Linked DNA regions of Homo sapiens: region 2 is linked to region 1. Evidence: promoter capture Hi-C in human tissues and cell types (Jung and others, 2019). All regions are on one chromosome and are shown on one strand. Each heading gives the region's core, a stretch centred on a gene start or on the middle of the fragment in contact. The rest is flanking DNA. Distances are from core to core; before and after follow the strand shown. Region 1 holds the start of RNF141 (ring finger protein 141). Region 2 overlaps SWAP70 (switching B cell complex subunit SWAP70).

Region 1 (6,614 bases), core at 2,457-4,956:
AGCCTTGGTGCCATGGACAGTGGCATGAGGCAGACTGGCTCCTGGGCAAAAAGGGGTGGGTCCTCAGTGAAACCCTACCTTTAGGCAACTGAGAGTCTGAAGCCTGGGGGCTGGGCTGCCAGGTCCTCAGACTGGAGTGAGAACTTATGGCACTTTTTCTACTGCCCATGGACCAATCAGCATGCACTTCCTCCCTCTTGAGCCCATAAATATCCTAGGCTCAGCCAGACTCAAGAAACATGGGGACAACCTGCCTGCGTGTAGGAGCTACCCACTCCAGATCTCCTCTCTGCTGAGGGCTCAGCAGACATCCTGACGACCTGCCTGCAGAAAGGAGCCACCCACTGTGGGTCTCCTCTCAGCTGAGAGCTGGGCAGACAACCGGACAACCTGCCTGCAGAAAGGAGCTACCCACTTAGAGTCTCCTGAGAGCTATACTGTCACTCAATAAAGCACCTCTTCACCCTACTCACCCTCCAATTGTCTGCATACCTCATTATTCCTGGATGTGGGACAACAACTTGGGACCTGCCAAATGGCAGGACTGAAAGAACTGTAACACAAACAGGGCTGAAACACCCCCTCACTCCCCATGTTGCAAGCGATGAGAAGGACAGAAGAGAGAAGGAGAGAAGAGCTTTGACACTTCGAGAAGCCCAGACCTAAGAGCTCCCTGAGCCAGGACTGTAACACCCTCTTGGGGGCTCTGCATTTCCTGGCATCTCAAAGCTTCCAGGTGCCACCACATTCCCTAGTGCCAGCAGTGGAAGCCGCTTGTGGTACTCCTGGTCCAGCCACAGCTTTGCAGGAGCCAGCGCCCATGCCAGCACCTGGAGCCACCCGCCCCGCCACAGCTGGCGTGCCTAGCTGTGCACAGCGGCCAGACCTCGCGCTCACTTGCTCACGCACCCCTCACCACTTTGCGCCTGGCTCGTCCTTGGCAGGCATGGGATCTGGGCCAGTGGCATGAGCCGAGTGCAGCCTGCAAGGCCAAATGGGCAGAATGAGCCCAGTGGGCCTGAGCAAAACTCGGGCAAAGGAGCCACCGGCCACAGAGGTTTCTGGCTGGCAGAGCAACACTCCAAGGATCCTGTGACAGTATGAGGAAAGGAGCAAGATATTAAGAGTTTTTTGGCATATGCTATTCAATTTTTTCAGGTTTATTTGTTGAAAAGATTATCTTTTCCCCCACTGAATTGCCTTGGCATATTTGTCGAAAATCAATTGATGACATATGTATAGATACATCTCTGGGTTCTATATACTGTTCCATTACTCTATCTATTTTCATACCTATACTATACTGTGTTGAGTAGCTCTTATTATAATGTCTTGAGATCAGGTAGTGTAAGTCCCAAAACTTTGTTTTTTTTGATGAAAGTCTTGACTATCCTAGGTCCTTTGCATCTCCATATAAATTTTAGAATTAGTTTGGTCATTTCCATCAAAAAGAAATCTGCTAGAATTTTTATTGGAATTTCCTTAAATCTGTAGGTCAATTTAGGCAGAAGTGATATCTTAAAAATGCTCAGTCTTCTGATTCATGAACATAATGTATCTCTATTTATTTAGGTCTTCTTTAATTTCTCTTAACAATGTTTTTTATTTTATTTTAGATTCAGGGGGTACACGTGTAGTTTTGTTACATGGGTATATCGAACAATGCTGAGGTTTAGGCTTCTAATGATCCAGGTCACCCAAGTGGTGAACATAGTACCCAATAGTAGTTTTTTCTACCCTTTTGGAATCCCCAGTGTTTATTGTTCCCAACTTTGTGTCTGTGTACTCAACGTTTAGCTCCTACTTATAAGTGAGAACATGCGGTATTTGGTTTCCTGTTTCTGCATTATTTTGCTTAGGACAATGGCCTCCAGCTGTATTCATGTTGCTGCAAAAGATATGATCTAGTCCTTTTTGTGGTTGTATAGTATTCCATGGCGTATATGTACCACACTTTCTTTATCCAATCCACTATTGATAAGCACCTGGGTTGATTCCATGTCTTTGCTATTCCATAATATTTTATAGTTTTCAGTATACATGTCTTTCTCATCTTTGGTCAAATTTGTCCCAAATTTGCTGCTTTTTTTTTTTTTTTTTTTTTTGCTGATAAGAGATATTTAAAAATTTTCCATTTCTAATTGTTCATTGCTAGTATATAGAAATACAACTGATTTTTGTATATTTGATTTTGTATCTTGCAACTTTTGTAAACTCACTTATGAGTTCTAGCAGCTTTTTTGTAGTATTCCACAATTTTCTTATGCAAATAAATGCAGTGCTACAACTTCCTTTCCAACTTGGATGCCTTTTATATATTTGTCTTTTTTTATTTCATTGACCAGAACTTCCAATACAATGTTTAATTGAAGGCAATTTTTACAGAGTAATATTTCTAACTCCCAGGCCCGGATTAGGCTGAACTATGGAATCTTGTTGAATTTGATATCTTTTGGAATTTATTAAATCATTATTTATACTTCATTTTTAAGCTTTTTCCTTTTCCAGTGTTCAAATATTCATCAAATGTTCAAATATTGAACAAGTACCATGCTGGCTGTCAGGGAAATAATGGTGCACAAACAGGCATGGACCTAGCGCTAATGAAGTCTTACCGTACTACCGAGGCAGTTTAAAACAGGAATTAAAAACACAGGTTCAGGGTTCTGTCTGCTTGGGTTTGAATCTGGCTCTGCTCCTTAATGGTTGTTTGACCTTGGAAAAGTTAATCGACTTTTCTAAGCCTGTGTCTTAGTGAAGGTATTAATAATACCTACTCACAGGATTGCTGTGAAGATTAAACGAATTAATACCTTTAAAGTCCTTAAAATACGGTTTGACATATAGTAAATGGTCAAAGAGTATTATTATTAGAGGGAAGAATTAGCTCTTCACAAGGTGAATCTACAAGTGACTGGTGAAGGAGGGGTGTACAAACAAGAAACATAAAAACCAGTTTAACTGCTAAGCATAGAGGCAGCAGTGTCAGCTGTACCTGGGTTAAAATCCTTGCTCTGCTGTTTATTGTCTAGGCAACTTTGACCAGACGACTTAAACAAGAGCAATGCCCGTAAAGTGCCTAGTGCAGTATTTGGCACACAACAGATGCTTAAAAGACAGCAATTACTGATTCAGACGTCCCGCAGAGCAGTAATATCACTAACATGTGCTCATCATCATATCTATCATTTATCAAAGCTCAGGATTTTGAACCTTGTAATTACTTTTCATACATTCTCTTATGCTTAACAACTCGGCTAGGTGAACACAATCCATTGCCTCATAAAGAAACAAGATGACCTTTGTGTATCTATCATCAGTGGGGAGGCTGGAGGTCTGGGAAGTGGTACCTTGGAGCCCAACTGTTGACCAAACCAGGGCTCTCAGTGCGGCCTTGGTCGCCAGCGGGGCGCTCCACTTTCCGCTCCGGAGATGGCACCAGGAGAGATGGGAGTCTGCCAGGCTGTTTCCATGGCCACCTCATGAAGCCCCTGCTCCGGGAGCGTGACAGGCGAGACTCTCCTTCGCCGCCACCTCTCGTCTCAGATGACCATCTGGGCTCGAAAGCCCTCAGGAGCTGCGGAGCGCGGGTCGGTAGGGGCGCTGCAGAGGAAGGTTGGGCGCCGTCTCCCGGCAACGCGCGGGGGGCGGGGCTTTGCGTCACAGAGGTGCGACCGGGTCCCGGCCTGAGTCGCGGCCACCCGCAGGTCTGAGCTGTGGGCTGAGGCAGCGCAGCCGCTGCCGCAGGGTGCGCGATGCCTTGAACCTGGGGTGAGCTCCGCGGCGCTGTCCTTTCGTGTTTCCCTTGCTAGCTGCTCCAGGACTCTGGGTCTGGGAAGAGAAACCCCAGAGGGCCCTCCGCTGCCGAGCCAGGCTTCCGCGGGGAGACAGGCCTAGCCCCGCCGCCCTCCCCGGGCCTCGGATTGGGGCGTGGGGACGGCTGGGGAGGCCATTCTATTGACGCCCGTCTTCTGCCCGGCGGGTTCCAGTTGCCCGGGGTGGCGGTGGCTTGTCCCGCCTCGGGGTGGTTCTGAGGGACCCGGAGAGAGTTTTTCCTTCTCTATCCCAAAACGGTTGTTTGAATATTGCCGCCGGCTCAGTCATTCGGCCGCCGGACTTAGCTGTTGGTTAAATGTCCAGGTGCGCTTGAGGAGGGGCTGAGGCGGCGTAGCCAGAGCGAGCGCTAGGGTGGCCCGCGGGCTCGGTCTCCGCCGGGCTGGACACCCAAATAAGAAACCTTTTGCCTGGGACGATAGCTCAGAAATAGCCACGTCGATCTACTTAGCCAGCCCCACACTTATGAATTGGCTTAGGCTGCTACCCTTCCCAAAGGTCTTTCCTTGTCAAACTAGCTGCTACCTTGAGACCCGGCTAAGAAAAGAACGTTTTCTTGCTAATAATAAGAAGGTAGTGATTACACAGCAGGAGCAGAAGGCTTCTGTGTTAGCTTTTGAAATTATTCCTTCAGTTATTTGTCTCGGCGTTACAAAATGTGGATTTACGATTGTTATTGAAATCGATCCCTATGCCCCTTATTAAAGGTAGTGTACCTTTTATATTCTGACACTGTCCTATTTAGCGGTGCCAGCTAATTCAGTTCTTGCCTCTGGCATATATATAAAGCTGCTGGAACACTTTCAATTGTTTATAATTCTTACATCTTCAGCACGAATTTATTCGTTTTCACTCCCTTCTGCCCATTCTTCTTGCTATAAAATGACCTCTACCCATTCAGAATTTTGTCTGGGGGCATGAGCTGCCACCGGCCGACGATCCTAAATTAGTCACCTCCATGTCGAAGTCACCCGTCTGAGAAGTGATGCTTTCTGAATTCAGAGCTCAAAAATAGTATGGATTTTTATCCTTTTCTTTCACATTGCCTGACTTCAGTTTCTAGAACTTTTTCTCAAGAATATGACTATATGTTTCAAAAATTAATATTTGTCATTTGGTGTAAATGAACTTTATATTCGATGTGTGTAGCCTGATCCTTCTTGGTTCCCATCTAAATACAAACACGCTTTCCTTCCCAAAAAGGCAAGGGAGGTCCAGAGAGAATTCTTACAAGTCTAATATGCTTTTTCCAATATGAAATGCATTTAGTAAACACACTGTTACTGTGAGAAATCCATATTCTTAATCTCCTAGTACGGCACTCTATCCTTTTGTAGTTTCTCTCTCCTTCTCTCTCTAATATATATGTATGTATCTTTTTCTGATCAAGATCTTTGATTCTGGAACAGGCATTCTGGACTCTATAGTGACTCTGGCCTAATTATTTCACTATGTATCTATATTAACTTGTCTTGAAAAAAAAAAGTTGATATCTGTTTACAGATCTACAGTTTGAGTAAACAATGAGTAATAAAGTAAATAATATCCTTAGGGACCCAGTCAGTAGTACTTGGTATTTATTACTGATGTTAAAGTTGACTTGACAGTGAAAATCATTGATGTTTATTTCAATTAAATCCTTTTAGGTGAGGTTGATACAAAATTTGATGGAGAACTGGTTTCAGAGAGGTTTTTAAAATACTACAGTGCAGTACTTGTCATTTAGTCATTTTGGTGCATTTTCAGCCTTTTCCATTTTGCTTTAGTTATTTTATGAATGAATTATGGTTTAAATTTTTAGGAGTTTTTGAGCAGTTTTTTCGTTTTTGCTTTGCCAGTTACCCATGATGTAATTTTAATATTTTTATAAGGAATATTTGAACTTCCACAATTCATTTGTTAGAAAAATAAGTGATTCACTATGTACCACCCACTAGAGAATGTGGCATTTTTGGAATCCTTGATCTTGTGCATTTCAAAATAACAGTTCTTTATTTAGAAAATCCTTCAAATGCTTTTTGAAAGCATATTTTTATCTTGCAAAAAATGACTGTGTTATAGGTGGCACAATAATATGAGAGCTGCTAGTTCTTTGAGAAATCTTGACCAGAAATTCATCTTTTGTTGAATTCTGTGCCAGTGGTTTGCAAATTATGTTTCTATGCAATACCACTGTTGCATGGCCTAGGGGGGAGTATCTTGTTAAAATCAAATAGTAAATGTTTCCCAGTTTACATAAGCATTAATTTAATGACAGATTTTCACAGTTTTACATTTTCTTTCATACATATTTTTAACTTCTGCTTCTCTCCAACCTAGTACTAATAGATGACTGACCAAATTAACAAAAGTCAAAAGAATACTAAGTGAATAATAATAAAACAAAAACTGCCAATGGTATTTACTGCATTTATTCAGTAAACATCTATTGAGTGCTTGTGTATCTGCCAGAAGACAGACCATAGCTGCTGTCCTCAAGAAGCTCACTAGAGGGAAATGGCCAAGTGACTTAACGAATGTCATAGTATGATAGAAATATGTGCAGTCACCAAAGAGGGACACTGAAAAGCTGTGGTGGTTGACTAGAGGATGGCCTCAACAGATTGTTTTCGTGAACATGCACTCTGTGTTGTGGTTTTATATTGTATGCAGATCACAGAGTCATATCTTATTTTCACACCCATATAGTGATAGATGTTAATATTTATCAATATTTTATGGTTTTCAAAATAAACTAAATGTCAAGCCCTCTTTCTGGAACCAGGTTGAAAACCACTTCT
Region 2 (6,614 bases), core at 3,002-5,501, 860 kb after region 1:
TGCACTCCAGCCTGGGTGACAGTGTAAGACCCTGTCTCAAAAAGAAAAATTTTTTAATTTAAGAAAGATCACAAATCTGAAGTCATTAAAATATACAGAAATCAAAAATATATAAAATAAAATTAAAAATAAAAGAATGAAAAAAAATCACAAATGTGAGGTTTCCCTCGGCTGCCCCACCTTCTCACCAACCTGACCCCGCATGGTCCCTAAAATATGACTTCTATCCCTATCAATCTCTTGAAATTGCTTTTCTAAATGGATTCTGAGGTAGACACAGAGATGCACCACTCAGATGCCCCCTCAAGTAGGTAACTGCTACCCAGCTACAAGGACTGTGTTAAGCTGATAGCCTCCAGCTACTTTCAGGGTCCCAGTGACAGAGCGGGGTGGTAGGATCACTTTTCCTCAATGTGGGAGTCCCATAAGGGGCAATCTTTGCTTCAGAGCTCCTGGTTTTGCCAAATCCATATGATGGTTTGACAGTTCCTTTTCCCAATTTCATTTCCTCTCTCCCACCCCACAGGTAACACTTTTGTATTCCTAACAGTGTCTTAACATTGGCTTCCTGGAGAACCCATGCTGGGACAGATACCTTCTGGCCAAGTCACTCTCCCAAAGGTCTGGCAGTTGGCAGTCTGAATCACCCCCTCCTCTTAGACGTTTTTGGTCCCTGACATACCATTTTCTTTTCTTTTCTTTTCTTTTTCTTCTTTTTTTTTGAGACAGGGTCTTGCTCTGTTACTCAGGCTGGAGTGCAGTAGCTCGATCTGGGCTCACCACAGGCTCGACCTCCTGGGCTCAAGCAATTCTCCCACCTCAGCCACCATCCCCCACCCCTCACCCCCAGCAGCTGGGACTACAGGCACCTGCCATCACACCCAGCTAATTTTTCTATTTTTTGTAGAAACAGGTTTCACCATGTTGTCCAGGCTGGTCTCAAACTCCTGAGCTCAAGCCATCCACCTGCCTCAGCCTCACAAGTGCTGGAATTACAGGCATGCGCCAGCGTACCCAGCCCAGACAGAATAGTTTCTAAGTTCTTCAAAGGTAAATTTATGCAGTCACATCCATCATCCCTCATTCTCCCAATCTGGTCATTTCCCAAAGATCAATTTTCAACCCTCAGTTCTACTTTAATTTCTTCTTAGAAAGTGCTTTTGACCAGGCACAGTGGCTCACACCTATAATCCCAGCACTTTAGGAGGCCAAGGCAGGTGATCACTTCAGGCCAGGAGTTTGAGACCAGCCTGCCAACATGGCAAAAACCCTGTATCTACTAAAAACATAAAAATTAGCTGGGCGTGGTGGCACATGCCTGTAATCCCAGCTACTTGGGAGGCTGAGGCATGAGAATCACTTGAACCCGGGAGGCGGAGGTTGCAGTGCGCACAGATTGTGTCACTGCACTCCTGCGTGGGCAACAGACGAAGACCCTGTCTCAAAAAAAAATAAAAATAAAAATAAAGACAAGACATTCTGTGTTTATGAATCAAAAGACTTAAATTTTTTCAAATTTTATATTTTATAAATCTAAACATTTATAAAAAGAAAAAAGAAAGTGATTTTATTCTGACAACCTTAAGTCATCTCTATTCAAATGATTCATAGATCTCTTTCTGGTCTTAACCTCTCCAGTAAGCTCTGGTTTATATCACTAAACAATACTAGAGATTTCTATTCTAAATCTGCCTCACGTCCAAAAGATCCAAATGAGATCTCATCACTTTTCTCCCCAAAATAGGTTTGCCACCCTGATTCTGACTTTGGTATCACCATTGCCTTAACAAAACTATGGTCTCTTCTTCTATCTCTTTTTCATACAGTTTGTCCACCTTCTGGATCTAATTCAGCCCCAGCCAATGCCAACTCCTGTCTCTACTGCGTGAGCCGCTCTGTCACCTTCAGGCTAACCAAGCAGAGAGTGTGAGGCTGGGGAAACAAGGGCTCCTCCCCTCACCTCCCAGTACAAGGTCCCATTCTCCCCTCTCAGGTCCTGTCAAAGAGTTGCTGCAGAACAACTACTCCTCAGGATATAACCATGGTAAACACATCAAGCTACAAGGTTCAGTTAGAAGGCTAAACCTCAAAGAGCATGTCTGCCACCCTACATTTTACAAATGAGGAAACTGAAGCCCAGCAAAGAGAAGTGATTTCCCATTACCACACAAGTAATGGAGTACAGGTAACTCTCCTTACTCCCCAACTCCTCTCTCTCTCAACACTTTTCATGTTCCTCTAAAGGTTTTACTTTCTGAATCTTTCATCATAGTATTCTCACAGGGGAATTTCATACATCCTTTTCAAGTTAGTGACAAATGTCTCCTCCTCTAGGAAGCATTCTCTGAGCTAACTCCTCATGTCCTCACCCCAAGCTAAATAGGTTCCCTTCCTCTGCATTCTGCCTTCTGTATCTCACTGTATTTGAATTGCCAGTTTGCTCATCTGTATCACTCACAAGATTTTAAGCTCTACAAGGGGAGGGTACATATCTGTTTTAATTTCCATAGCTACCACTACTGACCCACACTCACCAACTTACCCAGACTTCATAGCACCCCACTAACAAGTCCCCCAATCTCCAGCCTCTCACCTTTAGTCATTAAACCTACATCATCAGAATAATTTTAAAACCGTATCTCTGCCATATATCTACCTAAAAACTTTAAATGACTTACCCTCTTTACAGGGTCAATTCTGAACTAATTCTAAGACAGACTGTCAGTCAATAAACATATATTAGCCATATATTCTGTGCAAAAACATTCAATGACATCTAAAATGTAGCCCCATCTCTCTTTAAATCCTAATTCTCCACTATGCTTTAAAACAAACCTTCTACTCCACTCACAGTATTTCCTTTCTGCTCAAATACTCCAAGTTGAGGCTCTTGCTCTTAATTTACAGTGCTACCACCATATTTGTCACCTTTCTGCAATTATACTGGACAAGATCTGCCCCATTCTCTCAAGACCTTGAGAGCTTGTCTGGAGGTTCTAGCAGGTAAGCACAGCTACTCATATACCCTTGACCGAAGACTGGTCCTCCTCTATCGAGGATGGTCGTTCTCTTTGACTGAGCACACAGCATTGGGAGGGACGCACATGGAGTGGTGAGGGAGGAAGGGGACAACCACCTAGCCAGCCAGATCAGCGAAATCAACCCTGGTGATCAATGGGGTGACAGATATCACAGCCAGATCACCCTCACATTCGCCATTCTCTCAAGAAACAGCTGAAGTACTATCTCCTTCATGAAACTTTGTCTGCAACTGTCTATATCCTTTTCTCTATTTGCCATGGAAATATACCACAAACCACATATGAAATTTAGAATTTTTAAAGCCTCATTTTAAAAAAAGTAAAAGGGAATAGGTAATATTAACTTAAATACTATATCCAAAATATTGTAATTTAAACATGTAATCGGTATTTTTAAAAATGCCTGCAATCCCAGCACTTCAGGAGGCTGTGGCGGGTGGATCACCTGAGGTCAGGAGTTCGACACCAGCCTGGCCAACATGGTGAAACCCTTTCTCTACTAAAAACACAAAAATTATCCAGGCGTGGTAGCGGGCACCTGTAATACCAGCTATTCAGGAGGATGAGGCAGGAGAATCACTTGAACCCAGGAGGCGGAGGTTGCAGTGAGCCAAGATCATGCCATTACATTCCAGCCTGGGTGACAAGAGCGAAACTCCATCTCAAAATAAATAAATAAATAACGAGATATGTTACTCTTGTTTTGGTACTAAGTCTTTGAAATCCAATGCATATTTTATACTTAAAGTACATATCAACTCAGGCTCATGAATTTTCAAGCAGTCAACAGCCAAACGTGGCTACTGGCTAACACTGGATGGCACGGCTTAGAGTGGTCATCTTCTACACACTCTAGAACTTGTTTATATATTGCGTCATTGTGGTCATTTCATGTATTATCTTCTTGACTACATCACACAATCCTCAACTTAAGGGACAAGGCTGCATGTTTTTTTCTTCCCAGGGTGCCTAACAAAAAGTGTTCAGTAGCCTGAAACCTTCAAATTCATATAATGTTTTATACATTAGTTTTCTTCAACATCATTGTTTGGTAGAAAATAAGAAAGAATTTCTGCTGTCACATATAAAGGTTGTGAGCTCTATTATAATCTTAAAATATAAAAAGCAGGCCGCGTGCAGTGGCTCATGCCTGTAATCCCAGCACTCTGGAAGGCTGAGGCAGGCAGATCACAAGGTCAGGAGATCAAGACCATCCTGGCTAACATGGTGAAACCCTGTCTCTACTGAAAATACAAAAAAATTTGCCAGGCGTGGTGGCGGGCACCTGTAGTCCCAGCTACTCAGGAGGCTAAGGCAGGAGAATGGTGTGAACTTGGGAGGTGGAGCTTGCAGTGAGCTGAGATCGCACCACCACACTCCAGCCTGGGCAACAGAGCAAGACTCTGTCTCAAAAATAAATAAATACATAAATAAAAATATAAAAAATAAAAAGCAAAGGAAGCTTCCCAAAGTCACCCAGGTAAAGGACCTCAGAATTCCAATGTAGTCTGATCTACTAATTGTCTGCTGTCCTATTACCTAACAGTGTTTCTCAAATCATCACTGAAGACGATCACTGAGACTGGAGTCAGTTGCTCATCAAGCTACAAGGTTCAGTTAGAAGGCTAAATTTCAGGAAAACAGCCAGCTAGCTGAGTATCCATCACCCTAGGAACTGAAAGAATTGATGGAGATGTGCTGCCTGCCAAGGCTGACATGCCCCATCCTTCCAGAGCTGTCTGTAGAGTGGAATGTAATACCTTCCAACACTGTCCATATGACCAGAACAACTTTCATCCTAACTAGCGTCACTTCTGGCTGATACACCATGCCCACATAACACCATTCTCCTCCTTCAAATCAAATGTTGTAAAGCTAATTATTCCTAAAGAAGCAAAAGGTACAGAAAACAGAAGAGTCTTAAGATCAAAAAAATTAGTGTTTCTAATATTGCAGAAATCTCTCCTTAACCGCAAGATCTCCTTATATGAAATTCAAGTATACACACAGATTTCCATTTAAATATCTCTCCCTCAACTGCTGAAAACTGCAGTTTCCAGTAGACACAGATTTTGAGTTTAAAGAAAAGGAACACGAAGGTAGGATGAGAAGAAGGAAATGAAGCAGAAAGTAGAGCAGGAAAAATAGTTTCATGAAACGCAGTCTTGGGGAAGAAAAAGGAAGCTGAGGCAAGGATCTACCTTAGGCTTGTGTTGTGGGAGGGGAACAAGGACATGCCTAAGAGGGACTAAGGAAGCGAGTGAGAGTGCTAATGTGCTAATAATCACCACTGATGGGACTAAGGTTCTATAACCCTCACGGTGGGAAGGAATGAGAAATACCTATTGAGTGATGGCATGCTGAGTACCTGGGAGAAGGTCGCCTAAAGCCTCTTCTGTCTCTAGCTTTGTTACTATGTACCTCTGGGACTGTGATGAGACCCCAAAGGAAATACAAAATGGAGATCAGAGAGGTTAAGAACTCTGAGTCCTAAGATCAGAAATGTACTATTAAGATGGAAGGTCAAATACCAAAAAAAAAAAAAAAAAAAAAGCACCTCAGAGTTTACGTGTTATTTTCGATAAAAGTACATGTATTTCCCAAAAAAAAAAAAAAACATAAAAATGTCCAAGTTATCTCACTGAAAAGTTTCTAGCAAGTAAGGAATAGAAACTAGAAATAATCCAACATTCATTATCCTATTTTAAGATATCTAAATGTGTAATTTTCTCTTTATTTAGAGAGCTGCCCTTACTATTTTATTTTGGTGATATCTACATAAAAAATATTTACAAAGACTTTAGGCTGGGTGCAGTGGCTCATGCCTGTAATCCCAGCACTTTAATAGGCTCACTCAAGACTCTGATCCCCAACCCCATTTTAAAAATTGATTGTTTTTGTTCCTCAATAGAACCTTTTACCATAGAGGTTAGCAGAAACACAACACAAAAGATTAGGAAGGGAATACTATACATGCCAAGTTCACAAAAGAATTAACTACATTTGTATATTGTGTTCCACAAATAAAAACCCTGTCTCATAATTTGCTTCCTTTATATTTTCAACTTACCAATGGCCTGGCTGAATTACCTTTGTAACTAGCAAGTAAAATTTTTTTAGGCTAAATGTCTGTATGGGAACAGAAAACATGGTATGATTCGTAAGATATCCAAACCAATTGTGAGGCAAAAGATAAAAAAACTAAAAAAAGATTTTAGTTGAAAATCTATCATTGAGAAAATACTAAAGATTTAAACTATCCATGTTGTTCATCAAAATTTTTTTCATTTAGATCTACACCAGAGTTGTAAATTCTTTTATTTCAAAAAGGTACAATAAATTTTTTTAAAGCTGTATTTCTAAAAACAACAGGATAAAAATGCACAGACAATGAGTTCATTTCAAGACATTTCCAGTGCTGACATGTAATTCACCCTGCAACCATAACTGCAAAGTAAAGCTATAACAGAGGTTGCAAAAAATATCACTAGATTTTGCTATATTTAAGAGGAAAACATTTACTAAACAATAAGGGTATTAATTTTAAGCTTCATTTTGATCTCTCAAAGGAAC

What was found. The method cuts DNA at HindIII sites, captures the fragments that hold promoters and counts their contacts. A contact is called where the count stands out against the background at its distance.
Region 2: a contact is called between a fragment that was not itself captured here and the fragment with the promoter of RNF141 in region 1, in 1 of the 25 tissues and cell types used here (bladder).

Annotation. Positions count from the first base shown.
Region 1 is chr11:10,538,279-10,544,892 of GRCh38, reverse strand. It overlaps RNF141 (ring finger protein 141), which reads left to right and starts at 3,706. Exons shown (of 6, transcript NM_016422.4): 1 at 3,706-3,771. It overlaps IRAG1-AS1 (IRAG1 antisense RNA 1), which reads right to left and starts at 3,657. Exons shown (of 4, transcript NR_046375.1): 1 at 3,351-3,657. RefSeq lists an enhancer at 3,521-3,630. The HindIII fragment of the contact is 8,088 bases long and covers 1,612-6,614 here.
Region 2 is chr11:9,677,524-9,684,137 of GRCh38, reverse strand. The region is part of intron 1 of SWAP70 (switching B cell complex subunit SWAP70); the gene reads right to left. It also overlaps the pseudogene RN7SKP50. Among named protein-coding and RNA genes, the nearest start is that of SWAP70, 17 kb to the right of the region's middle. RefSeq lists an enhancer at 5,087-5,626. The HindIII fragment of the contact is 4,845 bases long and covers 1,829-6,614 here.